Linked DNA regions of Homo sapiens: region 2 is linked to region 1. The links are contacts of gene promoters, found by promoter capture Hi-C in blood cells and fetal thymus (Javierre and others, 2016). All regions are on one chromosome and are shown on one strand. Each heading gives the region's core, a stretch centred on a gene start or on the middle of the fragment in contact. The rest is flanking DNA. Distances are from core to core; before and after follow the strand shown.

Region 1 (6,295 bases), core at 1,710-4,209:
TCCTAAGTTCCTATTGTGTGAACGTGCCTCAGGCCCAGCTCCAGTCATCTCCATCCATGTCCTAACTCCAGAGCTCTTGGTGGGCTCCCCATCTAGGGATCAATGCGCCAACTCTCCCCTGACCCTCACTTCTTGTCCTGAATTCTGAAGTCCAGCCAAACAATCAAAGCTCAAAGTTAATACCCTTCAGCTCTGAAGCCCTCCAATCCTTTCATCAGCTTTTTTTCCTTTTTTGAGACAAGAGTCTCAATCTATCACCCAGGCTGGAGTGCAGTGGCGTGATCTGGGCTCATTGTAACCTCTGTCTCCCTGGTTCATGTGATTCTTGTGGTTCAGCCTCTCAAGTAGCTGGGATTACAGGCATGCACCACCATGCCTGGCTAATTTTTTTTTTTTTTTTTTTTTGGTATTTTAGTAGAGACGGGGTTTTGCCATGTTGGCCAGGCTGGTCTCGAACTCCTGGCCAATCTGCCCGCCTTGGCCTCCCAAAGTGCTGGGATTACAGGCATAAGCCACCATGCCAGGCCCCTTTCATCATCTTTCAGGGCAGGGCTTGTCACTCCCTATTCCACCTTGAAAATACCTCTTGTGCCCAGGCTGTTGGGTTCCAGTCTCCAAATTTTTTTTTTTTTTTTTTTGAGAGAGGGTCTCACTCTGTCACCCAGGCTGGAGTGCAGTGGCGTGATCGCGGCTCACTGCGACCTCTGCCTCCTGGGTTCAAGTGATTCTCCCGCCTCAGCCTCCCAAGTAGCTAGTATTACAGGTGCGCACCACCACACCCAGCTAATTTTTGTATTTTTAGTAGAGATGGGGTTTCACCATGTTGGCCAGGCTGGTCTCGAACTCCTGACCTTAGGTGATCCACCCGCCTCAGCCTCCCAAAGTGTTGGGATTACAGGCGTGGCCAATAAGCCCAGCCCCGATTTTTTTTTTTTTTTTTTTTTTAATACAGGTTCTCGCTCTGTTGCCCAGGCTGTACTGCTGCAGTGGCGTGATCATAGCTCACTGTAACCATGAACTCTCGGGCTCAAATGATCCTCTTGTCTCAGCCTCCTGAGCAGCTAGGACTACAGGCACATGCCACCATGCACAGCTACTTTTTTTTTTTTTTTTTGTAGGGATGGGGTTTCACTGTGTTGTCTAGGCTGGTCTTGAACTCCTCCCACCTTAGTGTCCCAAAGTGTTGGGATTACAGGCGTGAGCCGCCGAGCCTGGCTAGTCTCTGAACCTAACCAACACTCTCTGTTACGGCTCGAAGACATAAATATAGGACCTTTTCAGTCAAACAGAAGGGTGTTTCCAGTATGCTATACTGCCCCCAACAAATCTAAAACAAAGTACTGGCATTTAAGAACCAGCTAAGAGAAATGCACAGGGACTGTGGAGGCAATGCTATTACCTCAGTCTGGTATTTGAAAAGGATTCCTTTTTTAGTCTACCCCCTCCCAAAGACCTTCCAGTTGTACCCTAGGGTCCCCTCTGTGTAAACCTTCAAGTGTTACATAAGATACTTGGAATGTCACTGAAGGATGCCACTTTTAGGCTCTATAAAAATCACCATTAACAATTTGGGAAGAAGCAAAGCTCTGTTGAACATCCAGTTATTGGCTGGTCTTCCTCACCAGAGGCATGAGGGATCCCTGTTGTCCCAGGGGCAGCCATCGACATCCCGACAAATGCCAGAGTACATCTCTCCCCAGGCAGCGATGACTCCATGGCGGTCTCATCCCTCACTACACTTTTCCTAGTGCTGGCATGGTAAAAGGCAATTAACTATAAATTAAACGGAAACTCAGTGTAGCAACTTCCATTTTGTTACAAGACTAGGAAACAAAACTTGTCTCTGATTTTCTTTTTAAGAAGACTTTTAAGTGTGACTGCGCGCGGTGGCTCATGCCTGTAATCCCAGCACTTCGGGAGGCCGAGGAGGGCGTATTACTTGAGGTCAGGAGTTCGAGACCAGCCTGGCCAACATGGTGAAACCCCGTCTCTACTAAAAATAAAAAAATTAGTCGGGCTACTCGGGAGGCTGAGGCAGGAGAATCGCTTGAACCCGGGAGGCGGAGGCTGCAGTGAGCTGAGATCGTGCCATTGCACTCCAGCCTGGGCGACAGAGCGAGACCGTCTCAAAGGCTTATGGGTTTCTGATCAAGTCATCTTAGCGACTGAAAGGGCTTCAGAGAAATCTGAACTTAAGTGCAAACAAAACAAAACAAACTCCAAAACAAAAAACAACCAACCATCAGACTTTAATCTCTATAGGGACAGAGCAATTTTCCTCAAACTTTTGCTCAGCAGAACACATCTGAAACTGGCCCCCTATGTGCTACGCATCCAGAAGAGGAAAAGCCGGATCTGAAAACAATATTCCACGCTAAATGGGCCGTCCCGGCCGGGGCAGGCGGTCCCAGCACCCGTGCTGAGCTCCCCGGCATACGGCACGACGGGGCCGCGCCGGCTCTTCGGCGACAGCAAGGCCGGCATCTAACTCCACACCGTCCGCGCTTGCACCGCGCACCCAGGCTTCGTACCCAGCTCCCAGGTGGGGACCGCGCCCCCGCGGCGCCCGCGCCCCGCGCCCCGCGCCCCGCTCCCCACTCCGGCCCTGGGCCGGCGCCGCAGCGGCCCGGAAGGTACCTGCTTAGAGGGAAGGGCCCCGACTGGCGCTGCCGCGGCCCCGGTGGAGAGGGCGGCTGGGTCGGAGCGGTGCCGCGGCCCGGGGAGGCGGCCAGGCGGCGCCTCAGCACCCGGACCCCAGGGGCGTGCGGGACCCGGCTCTCGTGGACTTCCTCGGCAGCCGCCGCTTCCTCAGACGGAACTCGGGGGGCGCCCCTTCCGCCGCCCCAGGCCGCCTTGCACCCCAAGCTGCTGCGGCAGTGACAGGGAAGAAGCAGACCCGGCCACCTCTGCCCATAGCCCCGGCCGCAGCCTCCACTCTCATGACAACCAAGCCCAGCCCTGGGCCAGGGCCTCTGCGCGTGCGCGACCCCGCCCCACCCCAGGCCGCGCCTGCGCACAAGGGGAGGGCTCCGCTACTCTGGCCCTCAGGGTTGTGTAGTTTCCGGGGCCACGGCACCTGGGCACACCAGGTGGCGTCGCGCCTTTGCTTTCCTGAGCCTTCTGAGTAAGGTAATGTGGTGTCCGTGGGGCGACGCCTGCGCACAAGACCGCGTCGGGCCTCACTTTTCCCAGGCCTTCTGGGTAATGTAGTTTCCGGGATCGGCACCCGGCCTGTGCCAGCTTGCAGAGCTCACCAGGTGCAGACCCCTGCGGCCAGGGCGAGGACGGATCTGAGCAGCTGGGCAGCAGGTGCCACCGCCTGTGGGACCCAGAGGGCTTGAGGACATCTGCAATGCTCCAGAAGCCCAAGAGCGTGAAGCTGCGGGCCCTGCGCAGCCCGAGGAAGTTCGGCGTGGCTGGCCGGAGCTGCCAGGAGGTGCTGCGCAAGGGCTGTCTCCGCTTCCAGGTGCCCGCTGGGCTAGGCGGGGACGGCCCGTCGGGGAGGCGTGTGGGGAGAATAGGAGGTGCCGCTTTTCCTCTTCCAAAACGGAGGGTGCAGGCGGCGCCCGGGGCGGGTAGTTTTCGTTCGCCTCAGCCGCTAGGACCCCGGGCCCCCGCAGCCTGGGGTTCCTGAGCGTGGCTTCAGAACGCAGGGGGGTTGGGGGACGACCTGGATCACCCCTTCCCTCTTCCCACCTCTCGGGCAGGACAGCCCTGCATCAGAGCTAGGAGACCCGGGTAGAGTGCCAGGTACTGGCACGCGGGGTCACGGCTGCTCTGCCTGTCCGGCCTCAGCTTCCCCTTGAGTAACATGAAAGGCTTGGCTAGGTGGGCTCTGCAGGCCCCTTCCAGCCCTCGCAGCTGGGGATTGCAATCGTCACCTTATTCTAGGTTGGTTTTCTTTTTAGACCAGTACTAGGGTTACCAGGTGTGCATTGCCGGGGTCGGTGCGGGTGGGGTGGGAGTAGCCATAAAATGCCTAAAACTGACCAGTGCAGAGTAACAGGGAACCGGACTCCAACAAATTAACAGTGCCACGTGCCGGTCACACTTGTGCACAGAGGCAACCAACCGTTCTCCTTCGTGTGCCAGCACCGCTCTGGCGGCTGTGTGCTGGGGATGGTGGTGTTCAGCTCCTGGCAGCAGGGAGGCGGCGCTGTCAAAGACAGGCTCTATTTGAAGCGCCCTCAGGAGCTCATTTAAAAAGGGTGAATCCTGCAGAGCCAGCAGTCACCCCCTGATGTATGTTTTTCCTGACTCTTCGTATTTTAGAACGGCCCGCAGTCAGGCGCCCTTGCTCCCGCTCCCTCATCCTTGCCTGGGCGTTGGAGCGACTGTGGCATACAGGCGGCAGCCTGAGCCTGCTTCTTTAAGCACAGCTCATTCCGGTCGTTTGTGAGGCCTGCAGATGCAAAGCCCTCGTCTTGAGACCCTTCCTCCTCCTGTTGCTTCTCCCGTCCCTGCAGCTCCCTGAGCGCGGTTCCCGGCTGTGCCTGTACGAGGATGGCACGGAGCTGACGGAAGATTACTTCCCCAGTGTTCCCGACAACGCCGAGCTGGTGCTGCTCACCTTGGGCCAGGCCTGGCAGGGCTGTGAGTGGCAAGGACTTTGGAGGTGGGCGGGAAGCTGGCACTCTCCGAGGTCCTGGGGGCTTAGCTCCAGGTGCCCATCAGGGTGGGGAAGAGTCCCCCTTACTGTGAACTCTCGGGTCTCAAGGAGGAAGCCCTCTGGAGGCAGAACTGGTCAGCGTCGCTTAGGTGGCAGAGTCCTCAGTCCTCTCGTTCATGAACCCAGCTGTTCAATTGGTCGTCTTTTTCTTCAAAAAATCTTTTAATTTTATTTGCGTTCATTTGAGGTGTCCTAGCAATTCCCAAGAGCAGAGGGAGGGCTTTGGGGTTGGGGCCTGCACAGTTTCATGGGGAAGGTGGAGCCAGGAAGAGATGCTGTTCTGTTCTGCTGGGCTGAGCACCCTTCTGGAAGGACGAGGTGGTGGTTCGTGGGATGCTCTCACATTGTTCTCGGTTGGTGTTTGCTAAGATGCTGTCCTCAGGGCTCAAGTTTGGGGGCAATTGCTTTGAGAGGTGGTTCTTTCGGGGCATCTGTATTGAAGCCTCAGGACACAAAGTCCTGCCTTTCAGAACCAGCCGAATGCCAAGGTCTGCGCTTGTTTGACTCCCGTAAAAGAGAGCTTTTGGCCACTGGGGCAGGAGATGCCATCATGTGCCTTTACCTGGGAGGGTCGGCCAGTGTTGTGCAAATGGGGTCAGGCTCCAGGAGATGCTTCTGGCAGCCCAGGAAGGACATGGGTGCTCTGAGGGATGGAGCTGTGGCTCCTTGGCCTAAGGGGCAAAAAGAGAGAAGTCGAAGAGTAACATCCATGTGGCCACCTCCCCGGCTACAGTGTTGGGGGCTCCACTGTCAGCATTGAGGGGTGACGCCTCTGGTGTGTGCTCCAAGGTTGCAAACCCCCTTTCTCCACTGGGCCTTGTGCTTTTAGAGGAGGCAGCTGGAAAATGTATCACTGTGATGCCCCCTGGGGTGGCCCCTGCAGGAGGTGGGGGCTGGGCAGGGGTATGCTCAGGGTATGCCTCACCTTTGGATGTTATCTTTCTTTCCCATTTCAGGGCATAGTTGAAAGACAGCAGAGCACGTTGCTCTCTCTCTGTCTCTCCCTGCATCTCGCAGTCTCTGTCTCTCTCCTCTGTCTCTGTCTCTGGCTCTCTCTGTCTGTCTCTGTCTCTCTCTCTCTCTGTCCTTCCTTTCTCTGGCGCTTTATCCTCCTCTCTTCGCTGAGACCGCTAGTCCTCCTCCTTGTTAGACTTAAAAAAAATTTTTTTTCTTTTCTTTTATGAAAACATTGAGATGGGGTCTCCCTCTGTTGCACAGGCTGGCCTCAAACTCCTGGGCTCAAGAAGTCCTCCTACTTTGGCTTCCCAAAGTGCTGGGATTACAGGCATGAGCCACTGTGCCTGGCCAAAATATTTTTGTTTTATTTATATTTTGAAACTTTGTTGCCCAGGCTGGAGTGCAGTGGCACAAACCTTGCTCACTGTAGCCTCGACCTCCGTGTTTCAAGTGATCCCGTTGCCTCAGCCTCCCAAGTATCTGGGACCACAGGCATGCATTACCACGTCTGGCTAATTGTTTTGTATTTTTTGTAGAGATAGGGTTTCGCCATGTTTCCCAGGATAGTCTCACACTCCTGGGCTCAAGCTGTCCTCCTGCCTTGGTCTCCTAAAGTGCTGGGATTACAGGTATGAGCCACTGTGCCTGGCCTAAACCGTTTATTTAGAA
Region 2 (6,295 bases), core at 1,498-3,997, 38 kb after region 1:
ATCAGGGCCCGGGTCTAGACACACACACGGGTGGGCGGGTGCTAGGATCAGGGCCCGGGTCTAGACACACACACGGGTGGGCGGGTGCTAGGATCAGGGCCCGGGTCTAGACACACACACGGGTGGGCGGGTGCTAGGATCAGGGCCCGGGTCTAGACACACACACGGGTGGGCGGGTGCTAGGATCAGGGCCCGGGTCTAGACACACACACGGGTGGGCGGGTGCTAGGATCAGGGCCCGGGTCTAGACACACACACGGGTGGGAGGGTGCTAGGATCAGGGCCCGGGTCTAGACACACACACGGGTGGGAGGGTGCTAGGATCAGGGCCCGGGTCTAGACACACACACGGGTGGGCGGGTGCTAGGATCAGGGCCCGGGTCTAGACACACACACGGGTGGGCGGGTGCTAGGATCAGAGCCCGGGTCTAGACACACACACGGGTGGGCGGGTGCTAGGAGAGCCAGCCCTGGCCTGCAGAGTGTGTCTTTCTCTGAAGGCAATTACAGTGCTGTCACCTTTTCATCTGCAATAGTCCCCCTCTGGCAGATAAGTAACAGTCGATATTTTTCTAAAGCAACACATCTTGGAGTGGCAATTTTGTATAAAAATGGACCCTCGAGTCAGGATCTTGGCGTTCTCCACGGTAACAGGGCTCACCAGACATGCTGTCTTGGCAGACGTGGAACCAGCAACTTCCTGGGCAGAGGCCAACCTGGCTGCCGAACAACTTCGTGCTTTCAAGCGCGCTGAAGACCGCACTGCACCTGTGAGCTAGAGAGATTGAGAGCCACTCAGAGAGTGCTCTCAGGAAGGCAGCATGAACATGTAGACGAGAATTTCCCACCTAAAGAACACCCGAAGACCGCCCCTCCCACTCCCAGGATTTTATCATCTTTGTGGAGACAGCTGTGGCCCGAATGTGTAAATCCAAATGAAACTGTGCCTGGATTTAGGATACAGGATCTACTATTTCCACGATTTTGGAGGCTTGGGACGATCTGTCCCCCTTATCTTGTATATTTCTAGTAGCCACCATTTGTCCTTTAGTGGAAATTAAGTCAACTTCAAAGTGTTTAGAATAAGCAGCACATGCCCTTCCTTAGAAGGCTCTCCAACTTTCATACGTTGTCAAAGTTTTTAAAAAAAGGTAACATGAGGAAACCAAAGTTTCTCTTCCTCAAATTAGACTCCTATTCTATTAGCTGAATGCAGCTAGCGACTGTCTCACAAATTTTAATATTAACAAACTGGTCCACCTCTCTTTTATCCTGAATGCAAAGCAAACTCCTCTAATAACAAGAAAGAAATTAATTAAAGACATAACATTTAAAATAACTATTTAGGAATAATTTTCGGCATTCAGAAAGTTGCAAAAAATAGTACAAAGAAACTGGTGTGATAGCTCACACCTGTAATCCCAGCTACTTGGGAAGCTGAGGTAGGAGGATCGCTCGAGCCCAGGAGTTCAAGACCAGCCTGGGCAATACAGCGAAAGCCCATCTTTAAAAAATTTTTTTAAAAATTAGCCAGGTGTGGTGGTGTGCACCTGTAGTCCCAGCTATGTGGGAGGCTGAGGTGAGAGGATCACTTGATCCCAGGAGTCTGAGGCTGTAGTGAGCTATGACTGCACCACTGCACTCCACCTGGGTGACAGAGTGAGACAGTGTCTCTGAAAAAATAATAATAATAAAATAGTACAGGGAGTTGCCATGTAGCCTTCACTCAGCTTCCACTAATGTTAAACAACTACAGGACATTGTCAACATTAAGAAATTAGTGACATTACGGTACTCTTCACTAAACTATAGATTTTATTTGTATTTTATCGGTTTCTCCATGAACCGTTTTTCTGTTCCAGAATCCAGTCCACAATACCACACTGCACTTAGAAAACTCGAAAGGAATGAGTGTGAGTAGTAGAAGCAACAAACAGGAGCAATGCAGGTTGACATGGCCGGGAAAGGCCCAAGAGCTGCTGCCAACAGGCCCTAGAACTGGAACCCAGAAGGGGACGGATGAAGAGTGCCCTGCCCAACAGCAGATAAGAGAAATAAAAAAAGGAAAAAAACAAAAAAATAAAACACAGAAATAATCTGTCTCGGCTGGGCGCGGTGGCTCACGGCTGTAATCCCAGCACTTTGGGAGGCTGAGGCAGGTGGATCACAAGGTCAGGAGATCGAGACCATCCCGGCTAACACAGTGAAACCCCGTCTCTACTAAAAATACAAAAAATTAGCCGGGCGTGGTGGTGGGCGCCTGTAGTCCCAGCTACTTGGGAGGCTGAGGCAGGAGAATGGCGTGAACCCAGGAGGCGGAGCTTGCAGTGAGCCGAGATTGCGCCACCGCACTCCAGCCTGGGTGACAGAGCAAGACTCCGTCTCAAAAAAAAAAAAAAAAAGAAATAATCTGTCTCAGCCATGCACCCCGTAGCCCAAGACAGCTCCAGAAACCCTGTGGGGTGGCAGCTCCAAGGTCCTGTGATACTGTGGCAGTCAGAGTGTGTGTCTGAAACAGGAGGGAGAAGAGCAGGCAGCAGCCCACCGGAGGCCAGGACGCCCGCCTGCTGTACACAGGACACGCCAGTTGCCCACAGGCTGGGTGAAGTGCCTGCTACCACAGCACACCGGGGGCTGCGCCTCCGTCCTCTCACAAGGGCAGGGCTTTGCTGAGAGCCCCGGCAGACGTCATGGTCACAGTTACACCAAGGGGACTGAGGCAACAGAGGTTACAGAACTTGCTAAGAGTTGCCATAAACATCTCTCATCAAAATCCTCCCACTGGGTCTTAAACAAGCCCATCTCCCTAAAACGCCATCACGTGCCTCGTAGGGAAAAGACATCTCTGACCTAGAAAGCCACTGCCCCACCTCTCCTCCCTGCTGTGAGCCCTCCTCCGGGCGCTTTGCTGCTCTGTGCTGGAGTATGCTGTGTGGGGAGCCCAGCTCGGTGCCTGAACAGCTTTAAAGGAGTGGCACACCCATTTCAGATGAGGACAACTTGGGTAAGGAGCTTATGAGGTTATACGAGTGATGCCTGGCTTCCAAATCTCTATTCCATCACCACAGCTCACCCTAGATATGACCCCCAACAACTGCCTGAGGTGGGGATTGAACTGAAGAAGCTGCCACCCGCTCTGTGTTCTACGCCTGCACGTCTTTTCCCGCAGCAGGTGCTTCTCAAGGCTTCTGTCAGCATCTTGGCAGCAGTGGTTCTGAACTTTTCGCGTGCAACAGGTTCATCAGGTGGACCTTTTGGCCCCTTCTGCAGAGAAAAGCCAGATGATCTGCTGGGCTGGAAGCGCTGGCTGTTAACAGACACCTGAGGATCTGGTGGGCCTGGAAGCGCTGGCTGTTAACAGACACCTGAGCAGGCCATTTGCTGTCCTCTCCGGATTGACAGGAGTCAAAACATGAGATCGGCTTAGCTTCAGTTTCGTCATGGATTAACCACCTCCAAGGTGTCAACTCCAAAATGTCAAGAATTGGTCACAGTCTCACTTGCAGATTCCTGCTCTGCAGCTGGGCAGCTTGGACTGCTCCCACAGTCCAAAAAAGGAAAGACTTTCTCATCATTGAGATTCTCCTCATTCCAGTAGATTGTTTAATAACTGGTATGTCAGAAGCACAAACATGGTTTCTCCAAAAGGGCTGGCCGAGACTGACTTCAACATGATGGCTCGAGGAGCTTCACTGACCTTCTCAGAGAGTAATGAGCAGTCCCAAAACAGCCATTTAGAGAGCCTTTGGAAATGGTCCTATGGGCACCCAGCAAATGAAGAAACACTTGCTCCAGAACACCTACATACATTTGGTAAGGACACGGAGAGTCTGTGGCACTTGAGCTCCATCCTGCTGCAGCCAAGAACACAGGGCCACCTCCCCAGCTCCCAGGCAGCGGGGTGTCTTCCCAGGAGAGGCAGGATAGCAGTGCTTCCCTTTCTGCTCTCATCCCACCTGTGACTGAGACCAGGTCCTGAGTGAGTAGGATTGAGAAGAGGGGCCCTCCTTTCTGCTCAGACCCTATTTGTAGAATGAAGGCTTCACCTTGGCTCCATTCTACCAGTACGGTTTAAGCCTCTGCAAGAGGCTCCGCCCAGTGAACGGAGAAGACTGGGGCCCCATCAACCCCGTCCTAGATATGAGGTGGTTCCAGGCTGGGGAAGACACATTTGGAGGATCTCAGGCTGCTGCTAGCTCCCCCAGCCCCTATTCAGAGAGGAGCCCATTACTGTCCTCAGCTGCAGGCCCTGGCTCAGAGGCTCTGCCTGGGATGAGAGGCAGGCAACTAAACAGACAGCTCTTACACCTGCCCAAAGGCACCAAATTCCCTGCCATGGAATGTGGAGAAGTTCCGGCCTAAGGGAGCTGTTCAAGTACCGTGGATGCTGTGACGAAGGGGGTGGAGGCAGTGGAGAATCAAGCAATAGGCCAAATTGTAGGCCAACCAGTTCGCAGAAGAGAACCAGAGACTAACACGGCTGGGAGGAGGCCTCTTGGACACAGAACAAACTAACCAAACACTGACCTTAGAAAGTATCCCTTCGAAGAAGCCACAATTTGATTGGATTAGTTTGTAGAGCAACTTATGCCCAGGCTGTTGCTGAGAACAGCACAATAACCTGGCATTAGCGAAGTTCAACAGCTGGATGTGGTCAGGGAAAGAGGAAAAGGACCTCACTAAAACCACTGTCATCCAGAGTGGCTGGGTGCCACCCCCCACCAGCAACATCACAGGCTGAACACTGTGGCAGGGGAAATATACTTTATCAAAACAATCTACCCAGTTGCTAAACAAATAAGCATATTAACAATGACAAGCCCCAGGGTTGGGGACAGTACCCAGAATTGCTAAAATGTATTATCTAAAATGTCAAAAAAATTATGAAGGCATAATTCCAACAAAAAATTATGAAGCACTCAAAGAAAAAGAAAAGTAGGCTCATACACTGGAATAAAAGCAGGCCACAGAAGCTGTCTGTGAGAGTGACCAGATGTTGGATTTATACATATATAAAGGACCAAGGTAGCCATGATAAACAATATCAAGATCATGAATAAAGAAGAAACATAAGATAATGCTGCATCAAAGAGACTATCAATAAAGATAAATTACTTAAAAACCAAATGGAAATTCTGGAGTAGAAAAGTACAAAACCTGAAATAACAAAATTCACTAGAAGGGCTTAATAGTAGAACTGAACTGGCAGGATAAGCAAACTTGAAGACAGATCGATAGATTATGCATGCTGAAGAACACAGAGAAAAAAAGAACGAAGAAAAATAAAGCAAGCTGCAGAGAAATGCTGGACATCATTAAGTGCACTAACATACACAAAATAAGAACCACCAGGAATGCAGAGAGAAAGGAGCAGAAAAAATATTTGAAGAAATAATGGCTGAGAACTTCTCAAATTTACAGAAAAACATTAACCTATATATCCAGGAATCTTTTTTTTTTGAGACGGAGTCTCACTCTATCGCCCAGGCTGGAGTACAGTGGCATAATCTTGGCTCACTGCAAGCTCCGCCCCCCAGGTTCATGCCATTCTCCCGCCTCAGCCTCCCAAGTAGCTGGAACTACAGGCGCCCGCCACCACGCCCCGCTAATTTTTTGTATTTTTAGTAGAGATAGGGTTTCACTGTGTTAGCCAGGATGGTATCAATCTCCTGACCTTGTGATCCGCCTGCCTCAGCCTCCCAAAGTGCTGGGATTACAGGCGTGAGCCACCGTGCCTGGCCCCATATCCAGGAATCTTAATGAACAGAACTCCAAATAGGATACATGCAAAGAGATCCACAGACACATCACTGTAAAAATACAAAGATCAAAGGCAAAATCTTGAAAGAGAACAAAACCTTGAAAGCCCCAAGAAGAAAGCCACTTAGAAGGGAACCTCAATAAATGAACTGACTGAAACAATGGAGAATATTCAAACATATTCAACATGCTCAAATAAACTTGTCAACCAAGAATCCTATATCCAGCAAAGCTATACTTCAAAAATGGGCTGGGCATGGTGGCTCATGCCTGTAATCCCACCACTTTGGGAGGCTGAGGCAGTGATCACCTGAGGTCAGGAGTTTTAGACCAGCCTCGCCAACATGGTGAAAACCTGTCTCCAGTAAAAACACAAAAATTAGCCGGGCGTAGTGGCAGCCTCCTGTAATCCCAGCCATTCCAGAGGCTGAGGTGAGAATCACTTGAACCCGGGAGGCAGAGGTTGCAGTGGGCCGAGATCACACCTCTGCACTCCAGCCTGGGCAACAGAGTGAGACTCTGGTCTCAAAGCAAA

Evidence for each region. Contacts are between HindIII fragments. The CHiCAGO score rates a contact against its expected background, and 5 or more counts as called.
Region 2: a fragment that was not itself captured here is called in contact with the fragment with the promoter of CEP104 in region 1 in 1 of 17 cell types (megakaryocytes); the score reaches 5.8 in megakaryocytes.

Annotation. Positions count from the first base shown.
Region 1 is chr1:3,854,252-3,860,546 of GRCh38, forward strand. CEP104 (centrosomal protein 104) reads right to left here and starts at 2,960. Exons shown (of 22, transcript NM_014704.4): 1 at 2,638-2,960. DFFB (DNA fragmentation factor subunit beta) reads left to right here and starts at 3,225. Exons shown (of 7, transcript NM_004402.4): 1 at 3,225-3,466; 2 at 4,467-4,593. The coding sequence starts at 3,353. RefSeq lists silencers at 2,627-3,126, 4,057-4,106 and an enhancer at 3,267-3,446. The HindIII fragment of the contact is 29,508 bases long and covers 1-6,295 here.
Region 2 is chr1:3,892,222-3,898,516 of GRCh38, forward strand. It overlaps C1orf174 (chromosome 1 open reading frame 174), which reads right to left. Exons shown (of 4, transcript NM_207356.3): 2 at 662-775. Among named protein-coding and RNA genes, the nearest start is that of C1orf174, 4.9 kb to the right of the region's middle. The HindIII fragment of the contact is 8,006 bases long and covers 1-6,295 here.